2 separate regions of the Homo sapiens genome follow, and region 1 is linked to region 2. The links are contacts of gene promoters, found by promoter capture Hi-C in human tissues and cell types (Jung and others, 2019). All regions are on one chromosome and are shown on one strand. Each heading gives the region's core, a stretch centred on a gene start or on the middle of the fragment in contact. The rest is flanking DNA. Distances are from core to core; before and after follow the strand shown.

Region 1 (6,208 bases), core at 2,829-5,328, 130 kb before region 2:
GCTGGTTGTTAAAAACAGCCTGGTCCCATCCCCGCCCCCCCTTTCTTCCTCTCTTGCCATGGATCTCTGCACACTCTGGCTCCCCTTCTCTTCCCCCATGAGTGGAAGCAGCCTAAGGTTCTTATCAGATACCCAGTCTTGAACTTTTCCGGACAGCAGAATCATGAGCCAAATAAATGTTTTTCCTTTGTAAATTACCCAGCCTCAGGTATTCTTTTATAGCAAGACACATGGTAAGGGGCTGTCTTTGTATCAAAGTCTCAAGTCGAAAGAGCATCCAGTGTGGACTGTTTTATCACATCAGACTTTGGAAAATGGCAGAGTTGTCTGTGATAAGCAGAAAGAAGGCAGAGCTATTTTAACCATATATAGGATTTACTGTTCCTCTGAGTGGATTGTTTTAGGGCTTGCCATTACCTTTTTCCTGGAGGATTCCAATTTGTGGAGTTGTTTTTGAAAGTCTGCAACCAGAATTGAAATTTTCTGTATTCAGATTAATTTTCTTTCTGTACTAAGGAATAAAAAACATACTACTGTGTTGTGCTGTTTCTTTTCACTGATCACCTTTAAAATCCTTGTCTTGGCCACGCATGGTGGCTCATGCCTGTAATCCCAGCATTTGGGGAAGCTGAGGTGGGAGGATTGCTTGAGGCTAGGAGTTTGAGACCAGCCTGGGCAACATAGCGGGACCCTGTATCTTAAAAAAAAAAAAAAAAAAAAAAAAAAAAAAATTAGCCCGGCATGGTAGCACGCACATGTAGTCCCAGCTACTCAGGAGGCTGAAGTGAGAGGATCACTTGAGCCCAGGAGGTTGAGGCTACAGGGAGCTGTGATTGCACCACTGCACTTCAGCCTGGACAACAGAGCAAGAAAGACTCTGTCTCAAAATAATAATAATAATAATAATGATAAAAATAATAAAATACAGTTTCATTTTTTTTTTTGGTGGGGGAATCTCTCATTCTGCTTGATTTTATTATCAGGTAGTTATTTAAACATTATATGTTTCCACTAGGCCAGGCCCTGAGAGAATAATTATTTTGGCTCTTTATTGATTAATTTATTTCTTAATTACACAAATTCCATGCCCTTAAGATACTCATTTTCTATTTACAGGAAGAAGAAATGTTTCGTCCAAACATGTTTTTCCTCCTCCTGCTTCCCCCTATTATCTTTGAGTCTGGATATTCATTACACAAGGTGAGACTCAGGCACACATTGGTGCTTTGGTCTGGACAGTTTCTCATGTTTGTAAGGCAAGTTCCTTAAAAGCTTGGGTATAATTTAGCAGCAGCAGCAGCAGCAGCTCTGCTCCTTCCTGGTTGTGCTCAGTGGAAGCTGGACTGCAGTGCCTGACTTCTGGAGAGGAGCAGACATGATGAATTGGCTGCTTTAATGGTTTCAGGCAGTATGGCTCACTGAGCCAGTGTTTGCCATAAATGGGTGCTTTGCCCAGGAAGATGGCTGAAGTGATGTTAAGTGGCTCACAGATGATGCATTGACTCGTCTTCCTGGACACAGACTGATAGATGTAAAGAGGATAGACTGTGTCCTGGGACGACGGGGACATGTGCCCCAGGACTTTTGTTTCTTTCAGCTCCCCCACTGGGGCCTTTCTAACCTTCTCAGGCCCATCCATCCTTCCATGTCTCCCTCTCGGTGCCCTCCCCTGGCCTCAGACCCCAGCTTGATATTCCCCTTCATCCCTCAACCTCTATCGCTCCTCGCCCACTCCCTGGTCCAGCTTCTCCTTCCCAGGCTGGAGCCCCATCCTTCCCTGCCTAGTCCCACAGTTGCCTGCCCATTCTTTCCTCCCTGCCTTGGTGAGCAGTGGCACTGGCCCCTACCCACTTCTCTGCTTTGGCTTGGCCTTGACGGCCATTGCCTTGCAACTCCCAGTGTGAGATGTTTTTTTTTTTGTTTTGTTTTTTTTGAGATGGAGTCTCACTCTGTCACCCAGGCTGGAGTCCTGTGGCATGATCTCGGCTCACTGCAACCTCCACCTTGTGGGTTCAAGTGATTCTTCTGCCTCAGCCTCCTGAGTAGCTGGGATTACAGGCACACGCCACCTTGCCCGGCTAATTTTTGTCGTTTTAGTAGAGACGGACGGGGTTTTACCATGTTGGCCAGGCTGGTCTCGAACTCCTGACCTCAAGTGATCCACCCACCTTGGCTTCCCAAAGTGCTGGGGTTACAGGCATGAGCCACCACACTCGTCCCCTAGTGTGAGTCTTTCTGCCTGAGCAGGAGCTTCTCACTTTTAAGCCTGCTTGTGTGCGTGCATGGTTTTTTCCTTGTCTGTGAGTTTTCTTTAAACATAAATGTATTTAAGTTTTAAAATAAAGTGATTCAACTTAAAATACTAGTATTAATAATACAGCAGCTATTTTGTGAATGTGATTTTTAAAAAAACTGTGAAGATTGGAAAGTTTAGGCCAGTCCTTGGAGAGAGGAAAGCCAGAGACACAACACAGATCTAATCATGCGCTGCCCCCTACAGGTTTCTTTTTGGTAAAGTAGAAACCAAAAACCCCAAAACCCTACCTCCCAGGGTGCTTTGAGAGTCACACTAGATGAAAGAACGTAGGCAAAGCACCACCCACCACACTAAATAAATGAAGTGCTGCTGCTTGTTATTAATGATAAAAATGTCATTTATTATTAATAACAATATTACCACCAGTAGTAATAATAATTTATTAAGCTTAATATGGTCGGGCCCAGTGGCTCATGCCTATAATCCCAGCACTTTGAGAGGCCGAGGTGGGTGGATCACTTGAGGCCAGGAGTTCAAGACCAGTCTGGCCAACATGGTGAAACCCCATCTCTACTAAACATACAAAAATTAGCTGGTCGTGGTGGTGCGTGCCTGTAATCCCAGCTACTCTGGAGGCTGAAGCATGAGAATCATGAGAATAGCTTGAACTCGGGAGGTGGAGCTTGCAGTGAGCTGAGATCACGCCACTGCACTCCAGCCTGAGTGATAGAGGGAGACTTTGTCTCAAAAATAAATAAATAAAAATAAACTTAATTTGTTGTTGACATGGTATAAAATAAATAAATACATAATTTTAAAAAATGAGTTAGATTTGTCTAGAAATGTTTGGTAAAAACATAGAAATTAAGTCTTTAATTTTCCTGTACTAAAACAAAAGCATATTAAGATGTTCAGCCCAGATTTTTTTTTAAGTTATTATTTTATTGTGCATCTATCCAAAGAAAAAGTGAAAAGGAAATTTAATGTAAAAAATATTCACAAGTCTTACAAACTGTTAGTGACATCAGATAATTTTTAACAAGGAAACATAAGTTGAAGGTCACCATGTCTTTCCTTTCACTTTGTAAACAAATCTTAACTGTAAGCAGATATGAAAATATTTCAAAACATGCTGAGGAAATTGACTTGATTTTGACTTAAAAACATGACATTTTGAATATTAGAGCATGTAAAGTTTTTCTTTTCTTTTTTTTTTTTTTTTTTAGAGGGGAGAGAAACTTGTTCAAAATTTGAGGAAAGTAATAGTTTTTTAGAGAAACATTTTGTTGAAGATGACTTTCCAGCAGGAAATGTGACAATTTATATGAAAGGGACTGATAGGATTATGAAATGCTACTTCTGAAACTTCTATCCACTTTCTACCCTCGCCCAAAGATGATAGGAAGTAAAGTTTGAATATTTTATTTTAATATTATGATATCTGCTAATGTAAATTTGGATTTAGAATACAGATTACAGTAAGATTATCATCAGTTGATATGCATTAGCTAGGCAGCAACTGGTTCTTTGAATTGCAAATATTACACAAATCACAGGATGTTAATTATGTCAGAGAGAAACAGATAAATTTGCTTTATGTAGCAGAGGGAAGTTCTTGTATTATGGTAACTTTAACTTGGGTAAATGTTCAGGATCCAGATTAATATTAACCAAATATATAAATTATATCAACATTAGATCTCTGCAAACAGGTCAAAACTGATTAATCTGTTTTTTTTTTTTTTTTTTTGAGATGGAGTTTTGCTCTTGTTGCCCAGGCTGGAGTGCAATGGCACGAACTCGGCTCACTGCGAACTCGGCTCACTGCAACCTCGGCCCCCTGGGTTCAAGCGATTCTCCTGCCTCAGCCTCCCGAGTAGCTGGGATTACAGGCGTCTATAACCACACCAGCTAATTTTGTATTTTTAGCAGAGATGGGGTTTCTCCATGTTGGTCAGGTTGGTCTCGAACTCCTGACCTTAGATGATCCACCCGCCTTGGCCTCCCAAAGTGCTGGGATTACAGGTTTGAGCCACCGAGCCCAGTCTAATCTGTTTTTAAATAACAAAAGAAAACAGCGATTTGCAAAGAGCAACTCATAGATTGAAAGCCCTTTGTTTTGAAAAACCAAATCATTGTGTTTTAAAATTCTTTGTGCAGTAAAGATTGATATGCCAAACAAAGGAATTGAATGTCAGATGATAGGCAGCCAAGTCAAAATTGCAGCTTCTAGGAGGTGGGCTTAGTGGGGCAGTCAGTGTTCAGCTGAGGACACTCTTTCACAAGTGGGCTTTAAAATAGCAGGTCTTGATGTCCATGGTTTGGTGATTTCTGAGCTAAAAACAAGATTCTTGTTCACAACCACAATCGGGGGTGATCAAAGACTCTTGGTAGCTCCTAAGTGGAGTTCATAGGGTTATAATAAATAGCTTAATTTCCTTAATTTTATGGAAATTTGAAAGATGCTACCATGCTGCTTGAACTTGAATATTTTATCTTAAACGCTGTGAAGTATAGATAGAAACATTTTATCTGACATAGTTAATGATGATACTAATAGAGTGAAGTAAAATTGTTTAAAAGACCTGGCCAGGAAAAAGGAATATCTGATAGTGTATCTTGGTATCCTAATAGTGTGGACTTTGGATGTGAAACACAGTTAATTCCTTCAGTGCCTGTCTGTTGGGCATCTTCCATCTGACGGGCATTATGTCAGGGACCGTGTTGTGCGAAAGCAGGTGGGGTCATTGCCCAGAATGAGCCTGCAGCCTCATGGGAAAGTAAGACATCAGTACATAAATAAGTGCAAAATTGCAGTCTTGTCAACCGCTACAAGAGAGGGTGACTGTGCACTGAGAGCACAGACTAGGATCTGGGAAGAGTTGAAATGTCCTGAGATCTTGGGATGATGAAAGCTTAACAAGCAAAGAGGGAGCACAACCTGCTCGAAGCCACCAGTGGGACTGGAACCCAGAGAACAAAGGCGAGCATGGTGCCAGATGAGCCCAGAGGCCTCCCCAGGAGTCGAATCATTCAGGGTGGGGGCTAGCTGCATTTTAAGTGGAAATAGGGGTCCAGGTGAAGGCAGCACAATCAGATTTGTCTTTTGGGAAGATCATTCTGGAAAGACGGGAGAGTGGAGGGAAAGGGGCCCTGGGGGGTTGAGGAGACTTGTGCGAAGCTATGCAGTGTTTCAGATGAAAGATGGTGTGAGTGACGGGACACTGCAGTAAGTGCGGGGGTGCAGGAAGACTCCCGGGCTCCCAGCTTGCCACACAGGTTGGGCAGTGGTGCCTTTTACAGAGAATCAAGTCTGCACGGAGGGCCAGGTGTGCAGGCCGTGCCTTCACTGACAGGAATGGCTTTTCTAATCATTTCCCTGATTTCTGCTCTTTCAAACAGGGTAACTTCTTTCAAAATATTGGTTCCATCACCCTGTTTGCTGTTTTTGGGACGGCAATCTCCGCTTTTGTAGTAGGTGGAGGAATTTATTTTCTGGGTCAGGTAAGAAAATCATCTTTGAAACACTTTGAAAGTCTTACATTCTTAGAGCTAGTGCAGGGAGGTGGGAAGGTGAAATGGGGCCACTTTGTGGGGCCTGGGTTTCACCCTTAAGGTAAATTCCTTCTGGAAGGAAATCCTAGCTTCATATGAGGCACAGTAGAGGCGTGCTAAATTGTTTCAAAGTGTCCTCCAAGACCTTTGGTATCTGGAATTGAGTAAAACTTTTCCATAATCCCCCCCAAAGTATTTGAGTTTATTTGCAAACCAATACTGTCTTAAATTAGAATACCTAAAAATGAAGCCAAATATATGCCATCAAGAACTTCAAACTGTGTTGTCAAGTAGACTGAATTGGGGTTGAATGCTGTTTTTTGATAAAAATTTGTATTTAAAAAATCAAAGATGTGCTTTTCTGCTGGCATTGGAGAAATAATAAAATCAAAGGTG
Region 2 (5,699 bases), core at 2,708-5,207:
GTACCTTCCTTCCAGAAGCCTTTCGTGAGCACACTAGGTATTCCCAGATTGCCCTCCCGGCAGTTATACCAGCCTTCACCTCCCTGAAAAGCACGTGCCCCCTGCACCCCGCGACGATTGCAGGGAGGCGCCTTGGCCAGCAGAGGGCGCCAGAGGACCGCGCCCCAGGCCTGGGGCGGGACCCCCTCGTGCGGGGAGCTGGGGAGGGCCTGGCCCTGCCGGGTCCCAGGCCACCTGGGCCGCAGATGTCGCCCATTTCCGGGAGGACCTGACCCCACAGTATCAAAAGTGTCACCTCACCTTCCCCTGCAAAGGGAGCTGGGTCTGCGGCCGAGAGGCCTGGCCCGAAGCCTCCTCTCACCTCGTGGTCTCCGCCGCCTGCAGGAGGGAGTGGAGCGAGGGCGGGCCTGGAGGGGGTGGCGGGGACAATTCGATCCGATCTGAGCAAGGCCCCTCCCCTCTGCGTTGCCTCCCACCCCCATGCCCCGCGCAGGTGCCTGACCACTGAAGGAAAGTGGAAAGCGGGAGGCCCAGGCAGTGGCTGCCTGCAAGTACTTGATTGAGCCCCCATTATGTGCTTTGAAGAAAACAGAATAAGACAATGAGAGAGAAAGGTGGGCTGGGCGCGGTGGCTCACTCCTGTAATCCCACCAAGTTGGGAGGCTAAAGTGGGAGGATCAATTGAGCCGCAGAGTTTGAGACCAGCCTGGGCAACATAGTGGGACCCCATTTCTACAAAAAATAAATTAGCCAGGCATGGTAGCGCGTCTCAGTGAAAAAAGGGGGAAAAAAAGAAAAAAGAAGGTGGGTGCTGGGGCAAGGGTGGGTCCTACTTTGGCTAGGGTGATCAGGGAAGGCTCCCCTGAGGAAGTGACTTACATTTTTTGTGTTAAATATATTATTCATACCTAAAAGTGTTTAAATTGTCTCTGTACACTACCATGTCATGAAGATACGGTAAAATAAATAGTCCATGTACAGTAGAAAGACTAACAATAAAGATCCCTCCCTGCCTAGGAAACAGATCATTACCAAAATTCTAGAAGCTTCATGTGCAGCCTGTTCTTGCCTCCCCTCCTCACCAGCCACTCTTCAGAATTTTGTATCAAACATCTCCTTGCAGCCGGCATAGTGGCTCACCCCTGTAATCCCAGCACTTTGGCAGGCTGAGCTCAGGAGTTCCAGGCGGCAGTGAGCCGTGATTGTGCCACTGCACTCCAGCCTGGGTGACAGAGCAAGACCCCGTCTCAAAAACAAAACAAAAAACCACTTCCTTGCTTTTCTTTCTAATTCTACAACCCCCACATACATCCCTAAATAATATAGGGTTTCATTTGCCTGCTTCAGAACCTCGTATAAATCCAAATAACTATGCATTTGTTTGTGACCTCTGCTCGACATTGTGTTTTTGAGATTCATCCCTGTTGCTGCATGGAGTTGTAGTTCATTTTTATTGCTGTATAGTATTCTATTACAGGATTGCACCAGGGTTCATTAATCCAGTCTACTGTTTATAAACATTTGTGTTGTATCCAGTTTTGTTTTAGTTTTTGCTTTTTTTGCTATTAGGAACGAGGGTACAATGAATATCCTTTTTTGTTTTTTCGGGGTTTGGGCTGGACAACAGTTCTTTACTTTGCTTGGTTGCTCATTATAATCCCCAGGGGAGTTTTTTAAAATGCTGATGCCAGAGGCCCCACCCAGACTAATTAAATCAAGATGTGGGTGGGGGTGGGGTGGGCCGAGGCTTAGGTGTTTTAATCCTTCCCTGTGGGGATCTAATGTGCTGCCAGAGCTGAGAACCCCTGGGATGCAGTTGGTTTGAGGACAGACTTGTCAGCTGCAGCCCCTGGGATGCAGTTGGCTTGAGGACAGACAGGGAGAGGAGTCACCTGTTGCTAGCTGATGCCAAACTTTTCCAAAGTGACTATGCCCACCGACCCTCTCGCCAGCTCTCACCTCCTCATCAACTCTTGATAGTGACCAAATTTTTCCTTGTTGTCCTTCTGATGGGCGTGAAATGGCAGCTCACTGTGGCTTGAATTTGCCATTTCTCTCTTCACTAAACGAGGCTGAGCAGTTAGTGAAGTTGCTGCTGAAACAAAGAATGAAAGGAAGCCAGCGTGAAGATCTAGGAGCAAGAGACGTAGGGGAGAGGAGGAAGAGCAGCAGGTGCCAAGGTGGGAAAGGTCTGGGATGTTGGAGGAACAGAAGGAAGGCTGGGGGTGGGATCCTTGTGCATGGGGGAGGGAGAGAGGCTCAAGCCAATGTCAGCTGGGGTCAGAGCAGCGGGGCCGAGTTGGCTGAGGAGAGGACTTTGGCTTTTACTCTGAGACAGGCGCATGGGAGGGTTTGAGCAGAGGAGGGGGTGATCTGGCCTCACTTTGGCTTCAAGCAAAGGATCCTGATTGGAGCTAAATTGACACGGGACGGGGAGTATTCCGCTTAATGACTGCTTACTGCCTCTGTCCCCCACCCTACTGCCCGCTCTCCAGCTAGAACCAGGGGAGGACGATTTTGTTCACGGCTGTCACACCCGGCACCAAGTGACTAAACAGACAGTAGTTCTGCCCTTCAGGTTGGTGGTGGTGGTGGTGTGGGGTGCTTATAGGTTTTTATAGTCTTCCTTCACAGGTGGAAACAAGAACGGTGAGACCTGTGAGGTTTATTTCAGAGCCACCCCCGGGCCTGGTACGCCTCCCAGGGAAGCTGGGGTGGGGGTGCAGCTGCCCCTCACTTGGGCCCACCCCACATGCATTCAGTCAGGGCCCCTATGGAGCCGTGTTACAGCCTTTAGACACAGGATCGAGGATCTTCACGGGGTGAGGAGACACGCCCGGCCCATGCCTTCTTTCTCCCGCCAGCCTACAGGGATCTTTTTCAACGAAACTCTAACCAGGTCCCTCCTCAGCTGAAAATCCTTCGGTGGCTCCCCAGTGCCCTTGAGGCAAAGTCCAAACTCCTACGAGGCCCTGGGGCCCAGCACATCTGACCCCTCCGGGCATGCCCATCCCACCCCATCCCTGGAAGCTGCTCTCTAGGAGTTACTCTGAAGCAGTTGCCACTTCTTCCCTCGGGCCTTTTCCCTTGATAATTCTTCACTTCCTCTGGGAAGTCACCCCGACCCCCTGTCAGGTGACCCGCCTCTTAACGGTCGCCGCGTCCCGTCTCTCCCCCACCAAAGCACACTTCCCTTTGCATTGTAATTATCTGTTTACTTCGTCTGTCTCCCTCACTGGACCAGAAGCTACCCTTCGGGAGAGGCTCTGAGTGTTCTGTCCGGGGCTGTGCCCTGGCCCCAGGTACAGTGCCCCACACGTGCTGGGCGCTCCGTAAACACTGGATAAGGGAAGGAACGGGTGCTCTTGGCTAGCTGGGCCAGGCTGCTTTGCAAAAAGGCCGTGGCATTTCAAGCCGCCGAGAGCCACGTGCGGTGTCCCTTTCCTCGCTTCCTCCCCAGTGATGTGCGTTTCCCTCGTCAATGCCACGCTCTCCAGGCGCCAGCCGGGCGGAGGAAATTTCCGCCCCCTCCCAAGCCCGAGGCGGGGGCGGGCGTCGGAAGGTCAGGTGTCCCGGCCGGCGCGCAGCGCCAGGGGGCGTCAGAAGCGCTCAGACCACCGGGCGCTGAGCCGGTGGGCGCGCGGCGTCCTGCCGGGGTCCCACCTCGCAGAGGCCTCGCTTCGCTCGACGTCCCGCCCCGGACAGCCCCAGCACCGGGGACGACCCGCGCTGCGCCAGCGAACCCCGCCTCGGAGGAGTCCCCGCCCGGGCTCTCACCGCCACGCGGCGCGAGCCCGGCCAGCAGCCGGCGCACCTGCTCGGGGAGTGGCCTTCGGCGGAGACGAGCCTCCGATTGGCGCGGAGGTGACAAAGGGGCGTGGCAGATAAGGCCCCGCCCCTCCCACCCCCCACCACCCCCCCGGAGTACTTAAGGGAGTTGGCGGCGCTGCTGCATTCATTGCGCCGCGGCACGGCCTAGCGAGTGGTTCTTCTGCGCTACTGCTGCGCGAATCGGCGACCCCAGTGCCTCGACCACTATGCCGCGCTCTTTCCTCGTCAGGAAGCCCTCCGACCCCAATCGGAAGCCTAACTACAGCGAGCTGCAGGACTCTAATCCAGGTGCGTTGGAGGGGTTCTGGGCTCCAGGAGGTTTGGGGGAGACAGGCGAAGGCTGCGTGGGGGGCACCTGAGGGAGGCGGCCTGCCTGAGCCAGGATCGAGTCACAGGATGTTTTGTGGACCATTGCGGGCTCGGGAGACCGGGCAAGTGGGTCCCCAGTTCCGGGGATCTGTCTGGGTGGTTGGGGGAGTGCCGTGTAGAGGGCAGGGGTCTTCAGCTTGGGGGGCCTTTGTAGCCGGCGAGAGGCGGAGGAGCTCCGCAAGAGGGGAAGGAGAGGAGGCCTGTGTCAGGAGGGCCCTCTGGACGCTGCTGGGGAGAGTCCGGAGTCCAGAGGGTTGAGGGGAGGGGTGGGGAGACGAGATGTGTGTGAGGAGGGGGATTGGGGCAGGGTGGTGGCTCCGGGGCTGGGATGATGGGGTTCTGGCCTCAGGCTGGAGACTGGGGACTTAGGAGAGGGAGATCAGGAAATGACCTCCTTCAACTGGGGGTCCTACGTGTGAGAGACTCAGATTGGGTGACCTGGGCGAGGAGGGCAGGAACCTGGTCTGTCCTGTGGATAATTTTTTTGATCTAATTATGTATTGAGAATCGGCCCCACCCAGCCCCTGGCCAGCGGTGGGCTCATGTTTGTTGATTGAGTGAATGATTTAATTAACGCCTGACTCTGCTTTTTCTCCCTCAGAGTTTACCTTCCAGCAGCCCTACGACCAGGCCCACCTGCTGGCAGCCATCCCACCTCCGGAGATCCTCAACCCCACCGCCTCGCTGCCAATGCTCATCTGGGACTCTGTCCTGGCGCCCCAAGCCCAGCCAATTGCCTGGGCCTCCCTTCGGCTCCAGGAGAGTCCCAGGGTGGCAGAGCTGACCTCCCTGTCAGATGAGGACAGTGGGAAAGGCTCCCAGCCCCCCAGCCCACCCTCACCGGCTCCTTCGTCCTTCTCCTCTACTTCAGTCTCTTCCTTGGAGGCCGAGGCCTATGCTGCCTTCCCAGGCTTGGGCCAAGTGCCCAAGCAGCTGGCCCAGCTCTCTGAGGCCAAGGATCTCCAGGCTCGAAAGGCCTTCAACTGCAAATACTGCAACAAGGAATACCTCAGCCTGGGTGCCCTCAAGATGCACATCCGAAGCCACACGCTGCCCTGCGTCTGCGGAACCTGCGGGAAGGCCTTCTCTAGGCCCTGGCTGCTACAAGGCCATGTCCGGACCCACACTGGTACGTGCCCCTCCAGGCGCCCCCACCGTTGCTCTCTCTGGCAGCTTTTGTGAATCTGGGCTTGCTGTTCTCATTCCCAAAGCTGTGGACACTGAGGCCCCGAGTCTTCTAACTTCTAGCTCAAGTTCCAGGGCCTGGCTCTCTGGAAACGTTTGGCAGAAACTTTCTTCATCAGCTAAGCAGATGGGCAAAGCAGACACCTTCCCAATCCCCTGCAGCCTGTTTCTCAGCCAAATGGGTCGGAGCTGGATATGGGAAAGGTGCAACCAACACCTTGCTGTGGGGGCCAGGTGTGAAGGGGCCCACCCGGCCACACCCTCTCCCGGGTCCGCCCCCTCCCTAGCCAGACAGGATGTTGTCAGACCCCCCG

The links. The method cuts DNA at HindIII sites, captures the fragments that hold promoters and counts their contacts. A contact is called where the count stands out against the background at its distance.
Region 1: a fragment that was not itself captured here is called in contact with the fragment with the promoter of SNAI1 in region 2 in 1 of the 25 tissues and cell types used here (neural progenitor cells).

Annotation. Positions count from the first base shown.
Region 1 is chr20:49,843,920-49,850,127 of GRCh38, forward strand. It overlaps SLC9A8 (solute carrier family 9 member A8), which reads left to right. Exons shown (of 16, transcript NM_015266.3): 5 at 1,117-1,200; 6 at 5,660-5,761. Among named protein-coding and RNA genes, the nearest start is that of MIR12122, 17 kb to the right of the region's middle. The HindIII fragment of the contact is 4,181 bases long and covers 1,989-6,169 here.
Region 2 is chr20:49,979,023-49,984,721 of GRCh38, forward strand. SNAI1 (snail family transcriptional repressor 1) reads left to right here and starts at 3,958. Exons shown (of 3, transcript NM_005985.4): 1 at 3,958-4,119; 2 at 4,802-5,329. The coding sequence starts at 4,038. RefSeq lists silencers at 132-191, 292-391, 3,453-3,972 and an enhancer at 2,363-3,300. The HindIII fragment of the contact is 23,979 bases long and covers 1-5,699 here.